Linked DNA regions of Homo sapiens: regions 2 and 3 are each linked to region 1. The links are contacts of gene promoters, found by promoter capture Hi-C in human tissues and cell types (Jung and others, 2019). All regions are on one chromosome and are shown on one strand. Each heading gives the region's core, a stretch centred on a gene start or on the middle of the fragment in contact. The rest is flanking DNA. Distances are from core to core; before and after follow the strand shown.

Region 1 (4,316 bases), core at 248-2,747:
AGAGTTAGCGAGGGTGCAAACGTTGTGAGAATTCTGCTCGGGGCCTTCCACACACGGATCGGAGAACACCAGGTTAGTCCAAGTTCTAACACCCACTGTTGGTGAATCTGCTACCCACTAGGTCTTGGTACAGAGAATACCATTTGTGCACTTAGGTAACACAACTTGCCTTAACCTTTCCAAAAAGCGAAATTACGCCCAACGTGGGGCTCGAACCCACGACCCTGAGATTAAGAGTCTCATGCTCTACCGACTGAGCTAGCCGGGCGGCCATGTCTGTATTCTAACTTTGTCTCTGAAGATGGAGGTTACCCTCAGAGGTGTAAGCACGTTTCCACTGTGCAAATACTAAGAAGCGCCTGCGCCTGGCTCTGTTCTAGGCACTAGAGCCGAGGATCTGAAATCTACGGATTCCTGTACATGTGATGGCTGCATAGGCTTCAGAAGGGAAGAGCAAGAGATTAGGTGAGGGGCGAGACCTGAATTTACTTGAGTAGTGCTCTCCTTCAGTTTTGCCCCAGTCCGTGTTCCTCCGAAGCGCAGGGACACACATGTCCTTCCTGCCACGTAAGGCCGGCCTCGGGAGAGAATCTCCCGAACAGACCAAAACGTGTTTCCGCCCGGTTTCGAACCGGGGACCTTTCGCGTGTGAGGCGAACGTGATAACCACTACACTACGGAAACCACCTTGGCTACTTTCCTGCCGGCATCGTCCTGAAGACACACACGGCTGAGACGGCCGGGATAGCTCTAGGCAAGCGCCCTTGTAGGACAGGCCCGGGGACCCCTGCCGCGGCCGGCTGAGCGGTGTCCAGGTTCTGGAGCCGGACTTGTCCACCGCAGCCGAGTCCGCAGGTCCTGTAATGGCCTAGCATAGTTCACCCACGAGGGTTCGTGGTTTTTGGCGCGTTTGATCTGACATACTCAGAGGCCTGACCACCCCCCTAGGAAGCGCGACGTCCATCTGGAGTTTTCCCGCGAGCCGCCTTGAGAGCAGGGTAAGTTCTGCAGGCCCAGCCCTGGCGTCACGCTGTGTCTGGCACTCACTGGAGATTCTGTACATAAATCATGGCCCCGTCATTTTTCTCGCATCAAACAACATTTATTTATTTATGTATCGACATCAAATCTCTATAAAAATAAAATTTAAAGAGCTATTTAAGCATCAAGTATTATTTCTACCGCACAAAGCATCTATTTTTGCAGAGATGCTGTGAGAATGTAGATGTAATGATTCGTCACCACTTCTTCACTGCTGGGCAGTTAGGGAAGTTCATCTAAACCATGAGACAGTGTCCGGTTGGCAGTTTCTACCTCGGATGCGAAACGCCGACTACAGTTGGGGAAGGGTGGGGCGTCTGCTGCCCTAACCCGCGAAGCGCTTTCTCAGGCCCCGCCCCCGGTCCGACCCGGACGACCCTCTGAGTCCTCCACAACGAAGTCGTCTGCCTAGAAGGGCCGGAAGTACTTCAGGGCGCGCCGCGGACCCACCCCCTCGCTTCCGGCATCGGCTGTGGGGAGTACCGGCTGCAGTCGGCTGTGCCGGGAGGGTAGGATGGCGTCTGGCCGATGCGGTGATAGCACCGAAAGCAGACGGCCGCCAGGCGCTCCCCCTACCCCCCGAAGTTTCTCCCCAGCGGCGGGGGATGGGGGTAGGCGGTTCCTCTGTTCTTTCTGCGTTCCCCGCGGCCTCTTACCACAGAGACGCGGGCCTCCACCGTCCTAGCCCTCCCGCCCTGTTCTCTAGTGCGGACTAGAGCGTCTCCTCGCCATTTCCTGTCGCCCTGGGGCCCCGCGGGGAAAAAGGGGGAGTAGCAGGACAGCGGAGGGAAGTCGCGAGCTTAGGTGGTGTGTAGACGCCGGAAGTGTTGGGAAGGAGGCCGGAAGCTAGGGGCGGGGCCAGGAAGTGAGGAGGGGCGGGGGTTTATGAGGAGTCCAAGGGAGCATTGGGGCAGACTTGTACTCAGAGCCACCTGAGGGACTTGGCGGTGGCGCCCAGCACTGTCCCCTCCCCTCGTAGAGACACGGTTGTCGTTTGGGAGTAGGGAACACTGTGTTGGGGTGGGTTGTCGGCAGGACATCTCTCTGGCTGCTCTTGGGGCGAGGTGTGGAGGGGCAGGGCTGGGGGTGGAGCCGGGTCGCCAGGGCGTCGGTAGGGAAGACCCCCGCCCCTCGCCCCCCCACCGAACCTCTACACTGGCTGGCTGGACACTAAGATGGCTGCCGTTGCCATGACACCCAACCCTGTGCAGACCCTTCAGGAGGAGGCGGTGTGCGCCATCTGCCTCGATTACTTCACGGACCCCGTGTCCATCGGCTGCGGGCACAACTTCTGCCGAGTTTGTGTAACCCAGTTGTGGGGTGGGGAGGATGAGGAGGACAGAGATGAGTTAGATCGGGAGGAGGAGGAGGAGGACGGAGAGGAGGAGGAAGTGGAGGCTGTGGGGGCTGGCGCGGGGTGGGACACCCCCATGCGGGATGAAGACTACGAGGGTGACATGGAGGAGGAGGTCGAGGAGGAAGAAGAGGGTGTGTTCTGGACCAGTGGCATGAGCAGGTCCAGCTGGGACAACATGGACTATGTGTGGGAGGAGGAGGACGAGGAGGAAGACCTGGACTACTACTTGGGGGACATGGAGGAGGAGGACCTGAGGGGGGAGGATGAGGAGGACGAGGAGGAAGTGCTGGAGGAGGTTGAGGAAGAGGATCTAGACCCCGTCACCCCACTGCCCCCGCCTCCAGCCCCTCGGAGGTGCTTCACATGCCCTCAGTGCCGAAAGAGCTTTCCTCGGCGGAGCTTCCGCCCCAACCTGCAGCTGGCCAATATGGTCCAGGTGATTCGGCAGATGCACCCAACCCCTGGTCGAGGGAGCCGCGTGACCGATCAGGGCATCTGTCCCAAACACCAAGAAGCCCTGAAGCTCTTCTGCGAGGTAGACGAAGAGGCCATCTGTGTGGTGTGCCGAGAATCCAGGAGCCACAAACAGCACAGCGTGGTGCCATTGGAGGAGGTGGTGCAGGAGTACAAGGTGAGAGAAGTACAGAGAGAAGATGGGAGTTTAGTGGGGGGATGGAGAGGAAGTAAGGGGACCTGGGAAAAGGAAACATCTCTTCACCCACCAAAGAACCTCATGGTATTGGTGAGCCAAGTTTGCTTATCTAAGCACTTACTGCCACCAAGGTGGATTAGAATGAGAAGGATTCTGTACACAGAGCAGATGCAGTGAAGACGACCAGGGAAGGATGGCTTCCTCAAAGCAAATAGAGCAAAGCCGGTGATGCCAGATCAGGTCTCTAGGGCTTTACCAGAAGTCTCGTTTTCTTTCGGGTGAGTCTTAAGTCTGTCCTTGACGGAGACACCTAGAGATGGAAAGAACTGGGGGCTTCAAAGGACAAGAAAAGGCTCAGAAGCAGGAACACAGAGATAACTGCTAGTGTCAGTGTCAGACCCAAATGCTCTGCACTTGCCTCCCAGTGGGTTCCCCACCTACCACGATATGGCTTGGTTCTGTCTTCAAGGACTTTGGTTGGCTCTGTGTCATTCTTATGCACTGACTAGAAAGCAGGAGCTTTTCAGTCAGAAGACCTGGCTCTGCAAGTTGCATTGTCAAATCTTGATTAAGTCTGTGAGTGTCTTTGGACTTTAATTTGTCCAGGATTGATAGTTAATATTCACTGGACATTTATATGTATACCAGGCACTGTACTAGGCACTTTTCATGGACTGTCTCGTTAAAACCCAGACAACACTGAGTTTGATATGTTTTCCATTCCCATTTTATAGATTGGGAAACAAAGTCAGAGAGGCTTTAAGTACCATACAGAGGGCCACAGAGCTTCAGTAATAATTGACTTAGTTATTTACTGTCCCTTCCCCTGGTGTATACTAACAACGCCACCACCATTTGGATGTCTGTTGTTTGACTTTTCTGATGTGACTTTCTTGGAGTCTGATTCTAGTTTGACAAATACCTTGCCCCTACTTCTCATTTTGACTCTTCTTTGGACATAGGTAAAGGAGATTTGTTTGCAAGGCAGCCAGCACAAATAGCACTACTTAGTGAAGGCCTGGATGGGTTTGAAGCAGTGGGACCAGGAGGAGGAGGGGGTAGCCTCTGTGTGGTCTGCACAGAGCTTTTTTTGTTTTATAACTCATGTTTTCAGACCTTCTCCTGATTCCTGCTATAACTTCATTTAGGTATTATTTTCGTTACCCCAATTTTAGAGTAATGTGTCTAGGGTTTCTCAGCTCTGAGTGGTACAGCTAGACATACCTACATTACCTCATCACAAGTAACAATTTCTTTTACAGAGTG
Region 2 (4,076 bases), core at 77-2,576, 380 kb before region 1:
AACATTTATCATGAGGGGGTTAAGTAAAGTATGGTATAACTATACAATGAGTGTACTAGGAAACCCTTAGAAAGAATGCAGAAAGATGTATGTGGACTTTTACAGAAAGGTGAGCTACTGTCTAAATGCAAATGTGCCAATATCATGTATATACAGTCAGGTTCCTTTTGTTAAAAACCAAAAGCGTATGTTTAGAAGCAAAAGCACTCATATAAAGGCCTGGTATAGAGCAGTGGCTAAAAACAGTGCCAAGATACTGCCTCAACTTCCTCTCACATGCTGCCCTGGTGATACTGAGGCTGGTTCAGGAACCATGACAGCCTGTTTGTATGAATTCCTTAAAGCACAAATTACTTAGTTTCTTTCATAACAGTCACCTAATCCCTTAGTTTAAAATGGTTGTGTTCATGGAATACTATGCAGCCATAAAAAAGGAGATCACATCCTTTGCAGCAACATGAGTGGAGCTGGAGGCCATTATCCTAAGAGAACTAATGCTGCAACGGAAAAACCAAATACCGCATGTTTTCACTTACAAGTGGGAGCTAAACAATGAGAACACATGGATACAAAGAGGGGAAAAACAGACACTGAGGCCTACTTGAGGGTGAAGGGCAGGAGGAGGAAGAGTATCAGAAAAAATTCCTATTGGGTACTATGCTTATTACCTGGGTGATGAAACAATTTGAACACCAAATCCCTGTGACACAGTTTACCTACATAACAAACCTGCACATGTACTCCTGAACCTAAAAGTTACAATAAATAAAAAATAAAATGGTTGTGTCCTGACAGGAAATAAGTGTTCCAGATCTGCTTGCCTCCTACCCCCTTAAGAACTCCCAGCGCCAAGGACAGCTTCACAGTGATGTGCTGAATTTGTTTTTTCTCTGCCCCACCCACCATTTTGCTTCTGGTAAGATTTTGAATCCCTGGTTAATTAATGAAGAACTAACCTTACAATGGGTATATGCTTGTGGTCCCTTTCCACCAGCCCCCAGCCCACCTAACATACTAGTTGTGGGACTGCCTAAAGAAAGAATGTCAGGAAGGCCAGAGAGGCGAGCTGAGGATCCCCAGGTGGAGGCCTCCACAGTAAGTGCCACAAGGCCATTGCATCATGAGGGCGTGTTCCATGAAGATGTTCTAGCCATGGTGTTTGTCCACTGTCCCATGTGCCTGACTGCTTGGGCACAGTGGACAGTGGTCTTAGCCAAGGCCTAGTTATGTTCAGGGGCAGATCCCTGGCTTCTCCTAAATGCACTGGCCGTGAAAAGGGGCAGTCAGCTTCAGAGGGAGTTGAGGAGCTGGGGATGGGGAAGGCTTTGAAGATGCCCCTCAAAGCCCCACTGGATGTCAATCAGCCAGTTTCCAGACAAGATAAACTAGATAACTTGCAGGATTCTAGGTGTGGGTAGAGATGAGAATCAAACTGGGAAACGTAACTCTTCCCATAGAAGCAGCTAAAATGGCTGGGCATGGTGGCTCAGGCCTGTAATCCCAGCACTTTGGGAGGCTGAGGCAGGTGGATCATAAGGTCAGGAGTTCGAGACAAGCCTGGCCAACACAGTGAAACCCCATCTCTACTAAAAATACAAAAATGAGCCGGGCATGTGGTGGGCGCCTGTAATCCCAGCTACTCAGGAGGCTAAGGCAGGAGAATCGCTTGAACCCTGGAGGTGGAGGTTGCAGTGAGCCAAGATCCCGCCACTGCACTCTATCTAGCCTGGGCGACAGAGCGAGAATCTGCCTCAAAAAAAAAATAGAAGTAGCTAAAACAATTTGTGTGTGTGTGTGTGTGTGTGTGTGTGTGTGTTGGGGTTGGGGAGGAAGGTGTTAAGATCACAGGAATAAATAAAAATGTTAGCATAGTATTGCTATCACAGTATTTCTGTTGTTACATGCTTGAGTCAATCTTTGTTTTTAGAGGAAAAAAGCGTCCAGAAAAAGAAGGACGCTGGAACCTAGGAACTCCATGATTTGTGCTGAGGTTTTTTTGTTTTTTGTTGCAATGGTGTATTCTGAGGACAGGGTCTAAGAAATAACTTCTTAGTTATTCAAATGACTTCTGAATGAAACATTAAAAATACTGAATTGAAATGACCCCAAAACGTCTTAACTATTAGCAAATAGCTAACCTCTTGTATCCCAGATATTGTTTTGTGGAAAGAAAATGAACTTGCTGGATAAGAGACCAACTGAAACAAAATGGAAAGCATGGCAGTGTGCTATATCCATATATATATACACACACACACACACATATATATATACATACATATATATACATACACATATATATATACATACACACATATATATATATATATATACTTTTTACTAAGGCTAGGAACTTGAGGCGAGGATTTTTTCTTTCCCAGTTTGGATTCCCTTTAGAATTTTGGGTTCAGACAACAACTTTTACAGTTCTTGAACCAAGTTCCCTTTTACTGAAAGTTAACAAAATACAAAGAGGGGCTGTGGGCTGTGGGCTGTGAAAGGATTCTGTAGAAAATTGTAAGGCCCAGATTAAGAGCATGCAGACAGCAGTCTATCAGTCAGATTCTAACCTGAAAATCAGAAACCACTCAAGTGTTCAGATGGAAGAAATCTAATGCAGAGAATAGGTGACACACTCAGAGTCAACATCAGAGAAAGCACTGCCACAGATGCTATCAGACACAGCTTTTAAACTAAAAATGCTACTATGTTCAAGGAAAATAAAGCTACATTTGAGAATCTGGCATACTATGAAAAAGGAAGAAGGTCCAGTGCTGTGGCTCATGCCTGTAATCCTAGAGCTTTGGGAAGCTGGGGTGGGCAGATCACTTGAGGTCAGGAGTTTGAGACCAGCCTGGCAACACAGCACAACCCCTCTCTACTAAAAATACAAAAATTAGCCAGGCATGGTGGTGCACACCTGTAATCCCAGTTACATGGGAGGCGTAAGAATTGCTTGAACCTGGAAGGCAGAGGTTGCTGTGAGCCCAGATTTTGCCACTGTACTCCAACCTTGGGCGACAGAGTGATACTCCGTCTCCAGAAAAAAGGAAGCAAATGAAAAGTCTATTACTGAGAAACAGAAAAACTTAAATTGAGCACTCAATGGGTATATTTAAGCCAGATTACATAGCTAAAGAGAAACTTAGTGAACTGGAAGGTAAATTAGATCCAGAATGAAGCCTGGGTAAGGAGTAGGGGACAAAAGGATGGAAACGAGCACTTAAGAGGCACAGGAGATACAGTGAGAAGGCTTTATTTGGAGTCCTAGAAGGAAATGAAAAAAGAATGGTATAGAGCTAATATCTGAGCACACAATGGCTGAGAATTTACCAAAACTCATGAAAGATAAATACACAAATTTAAAAGCCCAGAGTATACAAAAAAGGATCACTTATAAAAAATCCACACCAAAATAAAACACAGTGAAACTGGAATAAACCGAAGATTAAAAAAATCTTAAAAGAAGCTATTTTAAAAAGAATACATTAAACTGGCAGATGAACAGCCAGAGTGGAAATCACACTTCAGTGGCTTAATGCATCCAATGTGACAAAAGAACATGAGGTCTAACCTAGAATTCTATTCCCACAAAAAACCATTTTTAAGAATGAAGTTATTTTTAGGCAAATAAAAATTGTGAAGTTTTACCTCTAACAGGACAGAGTATTCTAAAGAAAGTTTTCTAGAGAGAAGGAAAATGTCCCCAAATAAAAAATTGCAGAGGTGGAGAAGAATGAAAGGAAATGAAAAGGTTGGGCATGGTGGCTCATGCCTGTAATCCTAGCAATTTGGGAGGCCAAGGCAGGTGGATCACCTGAGGTCAGGAGTTCAAGACCAGCCTGGCCAACACAGTGAAACCCCCGTCTCTACTAAAAATACAACAATTAGCCGGGCATGGTGGTGTGTGCCTATAGTCCCAGCTACTGGGGAGGCTGAGGTAGGAGAATTGCTTGAATCTGGGAGGTAGCCATTGCAGTGAGCCGAGATTTTGCCACTGCACTCCAGCCTGGGTGACAAAGCAAGACTGTCTCCAAAAAAAAAAAATAAATAAATAAATTTAAAAAAAAAGAAAA
Region 3 (4,707 bases), core at 358-2,857, 470 kb before region 1:
AGCTCTGACCATTGCTCTATTCTTTGTCTCTTGGCACTGAGGCCTATAATTTACTTTGCATACTAGAGCCCTGGCATCATGGAATTTGAGATTTAGAAGAAACTTCAAAATGATTTTAAGCTTCACACTTTACATAAATAAACTTATTTCCCTAAGTTTATGCAGTTGGAGAGAAAAAAAAGAAATTGTTTGACATGCTGTATTCAGTTGAGTGAATGGATGGGTGAGTAAGTGGCAGAGAAAGACTCTATCAGTGATAAAATATGTTCTTGCATGAATTTAATAGCTCTATGTACTCAAACTGGGGATGCTACACAAAGGAATCCCCCACTAATTGCCCAATGAAATATTTCTATGCATGACTTCTAAAAATAACACACTTATTGAAATCAGAAATCATGTTTAAATTATTTTCAACAGCATGTAGTACTATATTCTTCATATTCTTCATGCCAGTCTACTAATTTAATGATATTGTCTGACTATAATAGAGCCACATTCAAGCCAGAAAATTTCATCCTCTGTCTGAGTGAAGGAGGAGGTTCTGGATTTTTAACTATGAAGTCAGAGTGGCCCATCCAGTCAGTACTTACCCAGGGCTCCTGTCCTGGAGAAGCGATGGTTACATAGGCTCCCTCCCTGGGCAGGGCAAAACTGCCCAAGGCCCATTGCCCGCCAGGCAGGAGCCTCCTCCCCCAGGCACCTTCGCTCACTCACCCTAACCAACTCAGCCGTGGAGGAACTGGTGTCTTACCAAACCACCTCCTGACCCTTAGGCTCAGCAGCAATCCTGCCTCAGGAGCATTGCCAAGGCCTCCTTAAGAGGAGTCAGGGGAAAATTGTTTACCAAGTATGACCTTGGAGACCTCCGGGCCCCAATGTGGCAATCAAAATCAACTGACTGAAAAACCAAGATTTGCCTTGAGTCCTCAATTCTCTCTATTCCCCATGCTCTGCCTAAATCAAATGAATCTATTCAGTGTCCTCAGAACCCAACTCTTCCCTTGGTGCATATGACTCTGCATCCTGGGATTCTGCACACTTCTGCTTTCACCCAAATCCTACCAGTCCTTCACCACTCAGACTAAATGACTCATCTCTCTTGGAGCTTACCATATTCACCACCTCAAATCTCTCCCTTCCCTGAGCTCCTCATATAATGCCCATATATCCCCATTATGTGTCTCATTGACTCAATTCAGTATTAATTTCCTTGAAGACAAGTTTGATGCTTTACATTGCTTTCAAACATAGTATACTTCATGTATTAACATTTATTTCTTTATACTCTGTTTTTTATTCACAATAAATTTAAAAGGAAAATGCATTTATTTATCAATTCATTCAAAAATTATCTACTGAGCAATGAGTGCTGTTCTACATACCACAGGAAATAAAACAAGAAACATTTAAGATGATTTGTATCCACTTAAGGGGTCATAATATAATATAGAAGAAATAGCTGTGCCATTACTAGCTTTGTGACCTTGAAGAGCTTTCTTGATATGCTTGCACCTTAGTTTCCCTTCAGTAAGATGATATTATTATGGCTTATCCTGTGGTTCTCTTTTGCAGATTAATGACACAGTGTATATAAAGTGCTTGGCATATGGTAGACATTCACTCAATGCTAGTTAGTGTTACTGGAACACAAACATAGGTGCATATGTGTGGTTATACAAGCATAAAGAAAAGGATGGAAAGGTTCACCTCAAACTGATTATGGTAATGCTGCTTATTGGTTGAGGGGTGTTGAATATGGGAAGGAGGTGGGAAGACTGATAACTTTTTCTTCATACAACAACAGGGTTTCATTTGTTGTAATTAGCATATATTTATTTTAAGAGATTTATTGAGGTATAATTCACATATCATACAATTCACACACTTAATATGTACAACTCAATAGCTTTTAATATATTCATAGATTTGTGCATCCATTATTTTAGAATATTTCCATTACCCCCCAAAATAATTCATGCCAGTTTGCAATCACTCCTCATTCTCACCCTCAACTCCAGGCAAGCAGAAATATATTTTTTGTCTTGATAGACTTGCCTTTCTAGACATTTCATATACGGACTCTTACAACATGTGGTCTTTTGTGTCCAGCTGGTTTCCCTTAATAATGAAGCTTCATCAATGTAGTAGCATGGATCATTTATCATCCTTTTTTATGGCTAATGTTCCTTTGTGTGAATATGCCACATTTTCTCATCCATTCATCTGTTGATGATCATTTGGTTTGTTTACACCTTTTGCCTATTTCATATGAATAATGCTGTTATGAAATATTTGTGTATGAGTTTTGTGTGCACATATTGATTGCTGTAATTCCAAGGAAAATAAAATAAAATATTTTAATAAAAACAAAGAGGCTAACCATACACTTCTAAAACCTAAAAAAGATTACCATCTTCTACAGATGATGTCACTGCTCTGTAAAGCTGAAGAAGAACCAGGAAAGAGAAATAATCTGACTAGGTATACAGAGCTCACAAATTGGTTGCCACCTGTTAAGGTATTTGGGCAACATAGTGGTTGATTTTTTACAAAAATTTTGCTGATAGGTTAACATCAGTAGGATTCACATGAAAATCTAAATTTTTATCTTTTCGGAAAGTTCAAAATATATGTCAACATTCTTTCAAATAAAATCAGTGGTGGGATGAGGGCAGGCGTGGCGGCTCATGCCTGTAATCCTAGCACTTTGGGAGGCTGAGATGCAAGGATGGCTTGAGCCCAGGAGGTCAAGACCAGACTAGGCAACATAGGGAGACTCTGTCTCAAATAAAAAATTAGCCAGGGGTGGTGGCACATGCCTCTGGTCCCAGCTACTTGAGAGACTGAGGTGGTAGGATCACTTGAGCCTGGAAGGTTGTGGCTGCAATAAGCCATCATTGCATCACAGCACTCAAGCCTGGGTGACACAGCAAGACCTTGTCTTGAAAAAATAAGTAAATAAATAAATCAGTGGGAACTGAGCAGTAGACCCTCCCCTAGAAGGAACATGCATTTTTTTCACCAAGCCAGCCCCTATTTGCACATTACGCCCCTGTCCTGTAGGCATTGGGATGTGCGTCCCTGGGTTCTTCAGAAGAGGGCAGGGGGGAAAGGTTGGACAATCCAGGATAGGATATTTGATTTGGAAGCAACTTTTGAAGTCCTTTCCTGATTCACAGAACTTCTCTGCACCAGCACCCAAGCATGGCCACTCAGCTCCTGTTGAAAGCCTTGGGGAAAGGGAGATCACTGTCCCCTGGTCAACTTCCTCACCTTTGTACATTCTTCCTTACACTTAGCCAAATTCAGTCTCTCACAGGCTTCAATGTGTCCATGTTTATTCTTACCTTTGGAATCACAAGTAAAGTTAAATTCCATCTTCCACATAGTAGCCCTTCAAATCTCTCTCTCTCTTTTTTTTTTTTTTTTTTTGAGATGGAGTCTTGCTCTGTTGCCCAGGCTGGAGTGCATTGGTGCAATCTTGGCTCACTGCAACCTCTGCCTCCCGGGTTCCCGCCATTCTCCTGCCTCAGCCTCAACTACTGAGATCAAGTGATCCTCCTGCATGATCCTCAGGCATGAGCCACCATGCCCAGCCTGAGTTTCTAATTTTTAATTGTGGTAAAAATATATGTACCATAAAATTTATTATCTTAGTCCTTTTTAAGCATATAGTTCGGTAGTGTTAAGTATATTCCCATTGTTTTGCAACAATCACTTTTGAATAGCAATAGACCACTCTTCCTCAACCTCCATAATAAGATTTTAACTAGAAAAACAATATTGTATTACCCTTTATACTTTTTGTAACTCTTGGATTGAAAATATACTGGTAACAAGGGCATTGATTAAATGGATCATATATTGCAATCATCAAGGCAAATTTATTTTTCTCTATCACTGTCCTTCTAAAACCAATGGCAGTTGTCCTTTCCCATATCCGGGATGAAACTTGAGCAGATTTCACAACTTCTTTTCATCTCTTATAGATAACAGATAGTCTTATGGATATTTTAAGAACCACAGAAAAATTTAATTAGTTGTCCATGACCAAAAAATTAACAGAGTGGACGAGCCATAATTAAAACAAAATTCCTTTGTTCTGAGTGCAAAACCCACATACTCTACTAAAAGTAGATGGCAATGCAAGAAATGAGATAGCAGATAGCAAAGAAATGAGCTATAAGCAAAAGTGGCCACCACTGGCTTCTGCAGATGGCTCTGCACTGAGGGGAACGGTTTGAGGAGTTCATTCATTGTAATTGCTACATATAATTTCATGGCATGAACATACCACTATTTAATCATCATTTTTAAAGAACAAAGCACTTCAAACACTGCGCCCATGAACATATTTATGCAGGGCTCTTGTGCCTCTGTGCAGAGGTTTCTCTGGATTGTTTATCAGAGTGAAGTCCTGGGTCGGGGGATGGGGATCTGCAACACCGAAAAATATTCTAAATTGCTGGAGTTTGTTTTGTTTTCCTGTTTTTACTTTTTACAACTTTTAAATGTTTGCTAATCAGATGAATATAAAATTGTATCTCATTGTTATCTGAATTTGCGTTTCACTGATTATGAGTGAGGTTGACATCTTTTCACATGGCTTATTATCCATTGTTTTATGATGAAATGATCTGCCCATATATTTTTCCACTTTATTAGATACTTGTCCTAAAAGAGCTGTAGGATCTGTACACTAAT

What was found. The method cuts DNA at HindIII sites, captures the fragments that hold promoters and counts their contacts. A contact is called where the count stands out against the background at its distance.
Region 2: a contact is called between a fragment that was not itself captured here and the fragment with the promoter of TRIM41 in region 1, in 2 of the 25 tissues and cell types used here (dorsolateral prefrontal cortex and lymphoblastoid cells).
Region 3: a contact is called between a fragment that was not itself captured here and the fragment with the promoter of TRIM41 in region 1, in 1 of the 25 tissues and cell types used here (lymphoblastoid cells).

The regions. Positions count from the first base shown.
Region 1 is chr5:181,221,784-181,226,099 of GRCh38, forward strand. It overlaps TRIM41 (tripartite motif containing 41), which reads left to right and starts at 1,498. Exons shown (of 6, transcript NM_033549.5): 1 at 1,498-3,029. The coding sequence starts at 2,217. TRK-CTT2-3 (tRNA-Lys (anticodon CTT) 2-3) reads right to left here and starts at 268; the gene lies at 196-268. TRV-CAC1-5 (tRNA-Val (anticodon CAC) 1-5) reads right to left here and starts at 684; the gene lies at 612-684. MIR4638 (microRNA 4638) reads right to left here and starts at 850; the gene lies at 783-850. RefSeq lists silencers at 77-286, 537-766, 2,037-2,246 and enhancers at 1,497-1,726, 2,394-3,391. The HindIII fragment of the contact is 24,392 bases long and covers 1-4,316 here.
Region 2 is chr5:180,839,007-180,843,082 of GRCh38, forward strand. It overlaps a transcript of ZFP62 not described here. Among named protein-coding and RNA genes, the nearest start is that of HEIH, 9.4 kb to the left of the region's middle. The HindIII fragment of the contact is 7,340 bases long and covers 1-4,076 here.
Region 3 is chr5:180,748,153-180,752,859 of GRCh38, forward strand. No RefSeq gene overlaps it. Among named protein-coding and RNA genes, the nearest start is that of OR2Y1, 10 kb to the left of the region's middle. The HindIII fragment of the contact is 4,608 bases long and covers 1-3,911 here.